Linked DNA regions of Homo sapiens: region 2 is linked to region 1. Evidence: promoter capture Hi-C in 16 types of primary human blood cells and fetal thymus (Javierre and others, 2016). All regions are on one chromosome and are shown on one strand. The core of a region is centred on a gene start or on the middle of the fragment in contact, and the rest is flanking DNA. Distances in the headings are between cores, read along the strand shown.

Region 1 (5,024 bases), core at 481-2,980:
CATGGAAAAGGAGGAAGGAATATAAAAATTAGTACATGGTTAATCTTTCCATTGTATGTGTCATCAGGAAAACAATGGTTGATACATTGAAAATTGAGGTTTAGAGGCGGGTGGATCATGAGGTCAGGAGTTTGAGACCAGCCTGGCCAAGATAGTGAAACCCCGTCTCTACTAAAAATACAATAATTAGCTGGGCACGGTGGCAGCCGCCTGTAATCCCAGCTACTCGGGAGGCTGAGGCAGGAGAATCACTTGAACCTGGGAGGCAGGGGTTGCAGTGAGCCGAGATCGCGTCACTGCACTCCAGCCTGGGTGACAGAGCGAGACTCCATCTCAAAAACAAAAAACAAAAAACAAAAAAAGAAAATTGAGGTTTAGGACACTGGTAGGATTATGGTGTCAGTCACATCATGAGTTGAGTCAATAGCACACTACAAATATCGTGATCCATAGCCCTGGGTTTAAGTAACTTATAATTTAAGGACATTTAATCTGAATTGCATTAGATTCTAATTACTTTCTAGAACACCCTATGTGAATTTACCAAAACAGTAAATATATGGAGTATGTGAACTTCAGAAGATTTTATATCAATGAAGGCAGGACAGTAGGACAGAAGACATGGTGGGACACGCCCATGATCTTCAGTTTATTCGACTCACTTCATCCTGAAGTCCTCAGCAGCTAGTCTCGCATTGTCAATCTGCAAGAGGAGCTGGGCATTTCCAATGCTGGCTGAAATGATCTGGCAAAAGAGAGGGACACACACAAGATTGAAGCCCTAAAAGACTAGTATTATACAAATATATTTTTGACACAAAGGTGAAAATGGTGATATTAAATGCTGTTTTATTTAGAGTTTAAGACAGTTTCATTTTTCTAAGACAATATCTGTATAAAATAATATTGAGAAGTAAAGAAATGCAGATTTCCTACAGAAAGATAATGGAAATACAATCATTTCTTAGTAAATGATAAAGTGGAGTGAAACAACCTGGGATGAGAAAATTGCTGCAAGTACAGCTAAATTGGAAAATATCAAAGTTGTAGGTGATTATCACTGTAAAACATTGTAATGGTAAAAAGGAAAAAAAAAATTCCCAAAGCGCCTCCAAAAGAGATCTTACCTTATTCCTGAGGTCTTCAATCAGTGGATAATATTTGCTGTAATCGCTCTGTGAAGCATCTGCAGTCCCAGTTCCTCGTGTTTCATACCATTCTCGAATTTTATTTTCTAGCTCAGTATTAGCCTCTTCTAGAGCTCGCACCTTATCCAGGTAGGAAGCTAATCTATCATTAAGATTTTGCATAGTTTCTTTTTCTGATCCAGAAAGAAGGCCTCCATCATTGCCCGAGAGAATACCTAGAGAGCCACCTCCTGGGCTGCCCCCAAATCCCATCCCCAGCCCTCCAAAGCTACCTCCACCCAGGGCTCTCCCATAACCAGCACCCAGTCCTCCTGCCATGGAACTTCCGGAGCCACCCCCAAAGCCGGAACTAGAACCAAACATGGAAGCAGCAGAAAAGCCTCCCCCACAGCTGGCTCCAAAGCCAAAGGCACTTCCCCCATAACCACTTCCAACACTGGAAGCAGACATGCCCCTGGGTCTGCCTATCACACTCTGCGAGGAGAGCCGCCGGGACAGTCCGGGGGTGCGCACTGAGAGTGACATGGTGTTGTTGGAGAGATCCATGGCCTGGGGAAGGTGGCCACAACTGGAGAGGAAGTTGTGCCAGCAAGCCAGAAAGCTAAACTTATATAGGCTGCAAGATGGGTGTCGCAGTTGAAAAGTTCACTTTCTCCACTCAAAATTGGATCCTCCCCCCAGGTTTTTGGCCAGCTCAACAAGTGAATGATTTATGTATAATGAAAATTCATTGATACAGAAATAATCGAATAATCATTTCCATTAAATATTTGTTATATGAAAAAGAAAGCTGGGTGGAGTAGAGTCTGCTTGTCATAAGGAATTTTTCTTCTCCAAATTAGTCTGTTGCCTGTATTCCCAGCACTGCCTAGCGTCTTGTTCACAGTAGGAAGATAATGAGCGATTGCTGAATGGATACGTTAAATACTTCTTCCTAAACCTTATGCTTTTTTAAGTTCTTCCCTGATCTTTTCTGTTTGTTTCCTTTGGAAAATCCAGTGTAAACCATTTGTTTCCTTTGGAAAAACCAATCCAATGTAAAATCCAGTCATGATCAAGTATACCTTTTAGTGGAATACAGCTTCAGAAGCAGCTGTGAAATGCACTGGTGAAAGGTGGAGAATAAATATATTTTCCAGATGGATACTAGAATTTGCATTTTCAAGGATTTTAAAACCTTGGCTTTAGGATGTTGCATGTTTCTTTTCCCTCTTATTCTTCAACTTGGAAAAGTACTATTTTTGAGTACAGTTGTTTATAGTAGAGTTTATTATAGTTGTTTTAGCAGTTTTACCTTGTCTGATTGCTCACTGCTCTACACTCAGCATTTACTATGTTTATTCCTTCAACAGATATTGCCTGTAATGGTTGCTCAATAAATGTGTTGACTAGTTGAATGGATTGTGTAAACACTTCAGATTTTGTTGCCATTATCAATAAGGAGAAAGTGGAAACACAGTTCAAATTAAGAAATGATTAAAACCCCAAGTTTAAGAGGCTAGTGAACCATTTCAGTTGACTGCTATGATGAAAAAGGATAAATTTTACAATATAGAATAAATTAAATGTTATATTTTAAACTTTGTTGTGAAAACTTTGCAAAGCGTGCTTCAAGGAATTATATCCAGTATCTTTAATTTTTAAGACATAAAGTTCTTATACTTTCTTGTTTGGTATATTATTTATCTTTGAAATTGATATGGCTTATATATTGAACATGAGAACTAACGTTCTTACAGGAAATGCATTAACTTGAAAGAAGCCTGCTTTCAGAGAGAGTTGTAGATACCTGGAAACCGAGTAGTACAATTCCAGGGTGGTGGAATTCCCTTAGGAATTTAAATTGTGAGCATTTTGATTGGATAAGAAGGAATAAGGATTTTTCTTTTACATGTTTTCTTTGAGATGATGGCCCAATTCTCTACATGTCTCATTGCAAAATAGTTCTATAGTTTTTTTTTAAATATAGCTCTCTATGTATTTATAGTAGGAAATTTAGAAGATGCAGAAAACATAAAGAAGATGTATGTATATATGAGTATTTTATATACATTTTTGAACATAATTGATTCAATATAAGATTTTATAATCTGCTTTTCTCTTAAGATTATATACTTATCTATCACTTGAACTTTAATAATTGGGTACAGAACATGGATTGTGGATTCTTCGAAATCCTTTGTTGGATTCAGATTTCTAAATTCAGTTTGCTCTGTATTTGATGATAGGAAATAAAATTTCTGGGTGTAAATAACAGTTTTTTTGCAAAGATGTTTATACTGAATTTTATTAATAAGGTATACACTGACTGTGTGTGCTATAGACATATATGTATTTTGACTAGAATGGATTTATTGAAATAAAATACATTAAAATCATTGTAATGATACATTTCCTACCTCGTGGGAAACAGGGCCTTCATTTCTCCATCAGGGACCTCTGTTTGCTTATAGATGGCCACTAAAACTCCTTTTCAATTTGGTATATTTGGATTCTGCGTTTTATTTTATTCTAAGGAAAAGTTTTAAAAATATCACAAGTATTCTAGATTTCTAAAATAAAATTGAATTCTTATTTGATTTAATAATACATACCTTTCATAAAAAGGAAGATTTTTATTTTTATTTATTTACCACTACTGGATTTTTTTTAAAAAATTTCAACTTTAATTTTAGATTCAGGAGGTACATGTGCAGGTTTGTTACGTGTGTATATTTCATGATGCTGAGGTTTGGGGTACGACTCATCTCATCACCCAGGTAGTAAGCATAGTACCCAATAGTTGTTTAACCTTTGCTCCCCACAGTAATTCCCAGTGTCTATTGTTGGCATTCTATATGTCCATGAGTGCCCAATGTTTAATTCCCAAAAAGGAGGCTTTCTATACATTTTAAAGTGGAGATTGAATCTATCTGGTAAAGATTAATTTCTCAGCAAAATTATTGGATACCTGTGAGATCATTGAGATGTTACTTACTTAATACAAACAATCAACCATAAAAATTAGCAAATATGTGGCTATTGTTTAAGGTTTTTCCATAAGCATATGCAATACTTTTTGTTTCTCTTACTAAAACAATAACCTGATTTTTTTGGACACTTCAATAGCAGAGATAATATGTGAAGTAAGCCTGTAACTGTTACACAACTTGAATTATGTCAAAATGATGTGGTCTTTTTGAAAATTAAATCAAGAATTTCAACCAAGCCAACATGAAAGTATTCAAGTACTAGGTCTGCTGTTACCTCCATTCTTCAATGTCTAGTCCATTTGCCCAGTGTCTTGGACAAAGTCAGCATTCAATATATGCTTATTGATTTCTCTCTTGATAAATCAAGCTGCTGGGCCATTAATGTGTGTTATGTATGAGGAAATTTTTCCAAAATCAAAAAAGAGTGTATCAATATAAAGGCAAGCTACAAAGTATAATAATTTAAGTATTCGTGGATTCACAATGTAGACACATTCAGATGTTACTCTCATTCTAATGTACACATGCATGCACACACACACACCCAGAAACATGCACTCAGATGTCTTTGCTTGGTGCCAGTGTGCAGGTGCTCCCTGCAGAGGGATCTTCTGCAGCCCCTGCTGCTCCACCTTCCCTGGGAGCCCTTTCTCCTGAGAATGCTTCTTTCGCTGGCCTTTATCTCATTGGAGTTAGTCTCAATGGTTAGCACTTGTTTTGCCTTGTAGAGTACAGACTGACTCCTGAGGAATTCCAGACCTGTAGCCTAGATTCCCCGTAGTTTACTGCTGCCTCCTGTCCACCTGCATATCCAGATATTATCTCCCTGATTACAGCCTCCCCGAAGCTGAGGTTCTTCCATTGTGAAGAGTCCTGAGCCAGAACTAGCAGTGCCCACTGGGGA
Region 2 (5,426 bases), core at 2,259-4,758, 420 kb after region 1:
AAATTACAGGAGAATTAAGTAACAGGAACTTCTAAAACACCACATGAGTAAGGAATCAGACAGGAAGTTATATAAACTAAATGTTGAATGGCATTTGACATGTTCGTTTCACAATAGTTCTCACCAATGGAAATTGAAAATTCATAGTCCCTCTCCTGTGGGCAGTTGCCTGGAGGCACACTGCCAACATTCACCCCAGCACTTGTCTTAACCCTGATTTTCCATGGTTCAACAATACTCTAATTTAACTTTCACATTTTTACATCTTCAATTAGACTTGAATCAATTCCTCAGACTTTGAATGCATACATCTTTTTAAGGTGACGCTACATAATTTGGTTTTGATCGTTTTGAACATAGGTTCCAAGTCTTGGATGATATCTGACTGTACCAATGCATTCTCATTCACACCATTGCATGGTGAGCATCCATGATGAAATTTATATTTGGTTTAGTTCATGTCTACCATCATATCTGTTGACTATTTGTAATATTTCTATTGCATGTCAGGATAACTTGGGCTTTGTTTATCTTTCTTATCTCACTAAGTCTTTAAAAAAAGATTACTGTGTGATACAGAGTTGTCATCATAGTGATAATGTAGAATTATCATCAGAGTGTTGGGTTGACTCTTATGATTTTGTGTGTGTCTTTGTTCATCTAATTATAATCTAACATCACCAACCTGTTATGAGTGACACACCACATACTTCTTCCTTCCTCCCTGCTGTGAGTTATAGTGGTGATTGGACTATAATTAATTTATTCTTCTTAGAATTTGAATTACACATAAAAGACAATCCCTAGGTTAGGCCCTCTAGTGCAATGTAATATTGTTATGGAAAGAACAGGGATTAATTTCAGAAAAACCAGCCTGTGTTTCCTACATTCAAAATAGGGAAAACTCGGCTCTTTCATCACTGGACACCTTCTCCTTGGAACCTCTTCTGACAGATGGTTCAGATAACACAGCTTGGGATTTTTCTTGTGAATATGCAGGAAACAAGAATGAATGTTATATTCTAAGATCAAACGCTGGGATAAATTTAATTAAATTGTAGGTTTGGAGATAACTAATGCAGAAAATATAGGATTAAAAATCAGAAATAAAATTAAAATGATTCCCACTTAAATAAACAAATATAGACATTATTCTAGAATATAAATCAAGAAAGCCTAAATTGGATAGATTGTATAAACTCGCTAAGGAAAGCATGCAAGCCTTATCCATCCTTTATTATCACTGCGTTCCACAGTGGCTGTGGCCTGTCCCAGACCAGAAAACCTTCAGATCCTCTTTCTAAACAAAAGCATTCCTTATGCAAGATAAGGACAAGGTAAAAACCAAGCTCTTCAGCCCCAGTCAGATTCCTGCTTGGAACAAAGATTAAGATGGAAAGGGTCAAATTTCAATAATCTTCTGCCCTTTAAGGTTGATTCCTAGCAAAATCAACCCAGTTTTTTCCAAGCATTCCCCTTTAAGTGCCCAATAGTAATAAATATAGCAAAGCATAAGTATACTTAATATATAAAACAAACCACTCACTAAGACCAACATTAAGTCCACTATGAAAGAACTGTACCTACACAAATAGGTGATGATAAGAATATAAGGGATTTCATTTAAGATCTACTGGTAAAATTATGATTAAGACATAAGAAAGGAGGACTTCTTAATATTACTTATATATTCAAAGAATAATATTTGAACAGAATTGTGTAGAAGGACAGCTGGAAAGGGGAATAGTGGCCCCAAATGGATGTAAACAGCATAGGAGAGAATTTAGTTTCTTTAAATGAGTTCTAGTTTCCTGACCGTGGACAAACTACTTCTCAGATACTGAGACATCTTCCAAGTGAGAACATTGAACACTGAGCTCTTTTTTTTTTTTTTTTTTTTTTTTTTTTTTGAGATAAGTCTCGCTCTGTCACCAGGCTGGAGTGCAGTGGTGCGATCTCGGCTCACTGCAACCTCCACCTCCAAGGTTCAAGCAATTCTCCTGCTTCAGCCTCCTGAGTAGCTGGGATTACAGGTGCCCGCCACCATGCCCATGTTTCACCATGTTGGCCAGGATGGTCTCGATCTCTTGACCTCATGATCTTTGGGAGGCCCACACTGGCCTCCCAAAGTGCTGGGATTACAGGTGTGAGCCACCACACCCAGCCAAGAACATTGAACTCTTATTGGTGATGTTTGAAGAATCGTGGGGAACCTAAAATTTGGGAGACTGGATCTATATTAGCATCAGAGAAAATTTTCATTCAATCTGAACTGATCAAAATAAGGATAGCTCCCTCTCCTTCAGGAAGCATTGAGCATGCCAGCATTTGCAAAATATATACCCGAACTTGAATTGCAAGAGCAGTTTTTTCCTTTTTGGCCCTGAAAATAACTTACAACATCCAAGAAGACTTTAAACAATCTATCTTTTACCTATTGCACAATTTGTTATTATACAATAGGGGGCTTATTGTTATTATTGTTGTTTGTAATGGTATTTCTAGGGCTTTCTATATTTCAAATGACTGACTCTTAATTCTGTTTAGTGCTGAATCACTGTTTTCCTCTTTCGTTTTTCTTTTAACTGGTAAATATTAACTTCCTTCATACAGCTCTGTCCTAAGACAGGTACAGCTAGCTTATTGGTGACAGCCGGACATGCTTGCACTGAATGACCGATGGTTTCCACTCTTCTTCTTTCCTCCTCTTTCCTAGTAGCTCAGTTCAATAAGGTTAAGCCCTTTTCTGATGGTTTGAGATACATTTAAAATGAATTTCTTATATTTATTTTTCTGGTGAAATAATATGTTATCAGGGAAACAATAGGGATTTGGCTTTTAAAAATTCATCATAGTCTTGTTAAAAAAAAAATTATTCAATGGCACTTGTGAAAGCCTGGTAAGGGAGACTTTATTCAGGAACACTGCAGTAAACAAAGGAACCACCATAACAGGGTCTTGCATTGGGAGACAGAGATTGGACTCATCTCCTAACATAGCATGGGCAAGTGAGAATTTACAGCCAAGGAGCAGGGTGGCGGTCAGTGGATGGAAAATTACTAAGAGGAAGCATCACCAGTAGGGAAATTTTGGCTAAACTGACCTAAAAGTGCTCTTGCTGAAGACAGGCGAGGGTGATCAAACATCACTTGGAGAATGGTGGCAGATAAGAGATCTGATCCGCTATTAAGGGTGATCAGATATCGAGGATGGGGAGTTCTTGCTAAACCTATTTAGCAGGGCTCTTTGCTAAAATTTTACAAAACTGGATTTTACAAGGAAGTGCACCCATGGGCCTATGAGAAGGTTCAGAAGCTTGACTAAACTATGGACAAGGAAAAAAATCTTCATTGGTCCTTACTGCCTTTTTAAAGAAACATTGGACTTCATGGCCACTAGTGAGGGTTTGGATTTAACTAATGAGTATCACTAGAAATTGGACATGCATGAGATTCACCATCCCTGTCCACCACCTCTGCTGATTGTCTTAATAACTGGTTAATTTTGCCACCTCTAAAATATCTTTCCTGCACATTTCTTCATTGTATTTATAATTTGAATTATCTTCTTTGCAACTAAGGCATTTCCCAATTTATCACCTAGTAATCTATACTCATCTTGCATATCCTTTCGTGACCTAGATTATGTGTGCAGTATATCCTTCATAAGCTCTTAAATTTAAAGGATATTTTATATTTTACAAAGCTTTTTCCCATTTTGGCCTGGCACAGTGGCTCACACCTGTAATCCCAGCACTTTGAAAGGCCAAGGCAGGAGGATCATTTGAGGTCAGGAGTTCGAGACCAGCCTGGCCAACATGGCAAAACCCGTCTCTACTAAAAATACAAAATTAACCAGGCTTGGCAGTGTGCACCTGTATTCCCAGCTACTCGGGAGGCTTAGGCACGAAAATCACTTGAACCTGGGAGGCAGAGTTTGCAGTGAGCTGAGATCGCGCCACTGCACTCCAGCCTGGGTGAAAGAGCAAGACTTTGTCTCAAAAATTAATTAATTAATTAATATTTTTAAAAAAACAAAGTTCTTTCACATCTATTCCCATGCCACTAAGTCAAGAGACTAATTTTTAAGACTTCGGGAAAGATCTATGGATCCCATCCATGCTGACTTAGAGCATAAGCAAATAGTTCATTTAAACAGCAACCCTTTAACCAGGCACAGTGGCTCACACCTGTAATCCTAGCACTTTGGGAGGCCAAGGTGGGTGGATCACTTGAGGTCAGGAGTTCAAAACCAGCCTGACAAATGTGGTGAAACCCCGTCTCTATTAAAAATGCAAAAAATTAGTGGGGTGTGGTGACACGCACCTGCAATCTCAGCTACTCGGCAGGCTGAGGCAGGAGAATCGCTTGAACCCAGGAGGCGGAGGTTGCAGTGAGCCAACATCAAGCCACTGCACTCTAGACTGTGCGACAGAGCAAGACTGTGTCTAAAAAGAGCAATCCTTGGATTTTGTTTGCAACAGCTCTAGACTATTTATCAGGAAATCACTACCATCAAATATTTTTCCAGTTCCAGCTAGGTTCAGGTGTTGCCAAGAAGTTTCTGATGAAGTGGGCTACAGGAGGGAACTTACTTCTAGATGTTATAGAACTATTGTTGTAAGATGAATTTATTTAGGTGGGCAAACTGATGAGACCAACATGAGTAACACCAAATGCCGTACACCACGCAGATGGGCAAGTTTCATGTTATACTGGGGACTCATGGGCTCATTACACCCATCTTTTGGGCCATTTTTATGTCTCAAATATCAGTTTTTATTCTGTTGTCTTAACTTATAGCCACTGAGATAACTCCCTACTGATATTTAGTTTCCAAGTTGACCTTTACAAGGCTGCCTTAACTTTGCCCCTTAACATCCTTTATCAAAGCCCATTACACGAATCCCACATTTGAGATTTCCAAAATAAGACAATCATGCATAGCTTTTCCTCAGGAATGGAACTTCTCAGGACAAGTCTGACGTGTACCCTAGTTATTAAATAGATAGGGAAACAATCAGAAAAATGACAGGGGAAATTTCATTCTAATAGACACTGGGAGAAAAGATGGCTTATGTTGACTTAATTCTTTTTAAAATACTTTACTGTGTGTGATTAGTATCCTAAGGCCTTTTAAAATACTTTTCAGTATACTATAAAGATGCCAGAGGGAGTTATAAGGAGCTATGGGCTGGGATTTGATTGAAAAAGTCCAAGTAGGTCAGGCGTGGTGGCTTGTGCCTGTAATCCCAGCACTTTGGGAGGGCAAGGCAGGCAGATCACTTGAGGTCAGGAGTTCAAAACCAGCCTGGCCAACGTGGTGAAACCCCATCTCTACTTAAAAAAATAAAAAATAAAGGCCAAGTAGAGAATACGAGTTTGAGCCATATGAAGTTTCCATTTTTGTAGATCAAAAATAACTGC

Evidence for each region. The method cuts DNA at HindIII sites, captures the fragments that hold promoters and counts their contacts. A CHiCAGO score of 5 or more calls a contact.
Region 2: a fragment that was not itself captured here is called in contact with the fragment with the promoter of KRT12 in region 1 in 2 of 17 cell types (endothelial precursors and M0 macrophages); the score reaches 6.4 in endothelial precursors.

What each region holds. Positions count from the first base shown.
Region 1 is chr17:40,865,493-40,870,516 of GRCh38, forward strand. It overlaps KRT12 (keratin 12), which reads right to left and starts at 1,731. Exons shown (of 8, transcript NM_000223.4): 1 at 1,128-1,731; 2 at 663-745. The coding sequence starts at 1,694. The region is part of intron 1 of LOC105371777 (a long non-coding RNA gene); the gene reads left to right. The HindIII fragment of the contact is 7,860 bases long and covers 1-5,024 here.
Region 2 is chr17:41,284,668-41,290,093 of GRCh38, forward strand. No RefSeq gene overlaps it. Among named protein-coding and RNA genes, the nearest start is that of KRTAP9-7, 12 kb to the left of the region's middle. The HindIII fragment of the contact is 390 bases long and covers 3,314-3,703 here.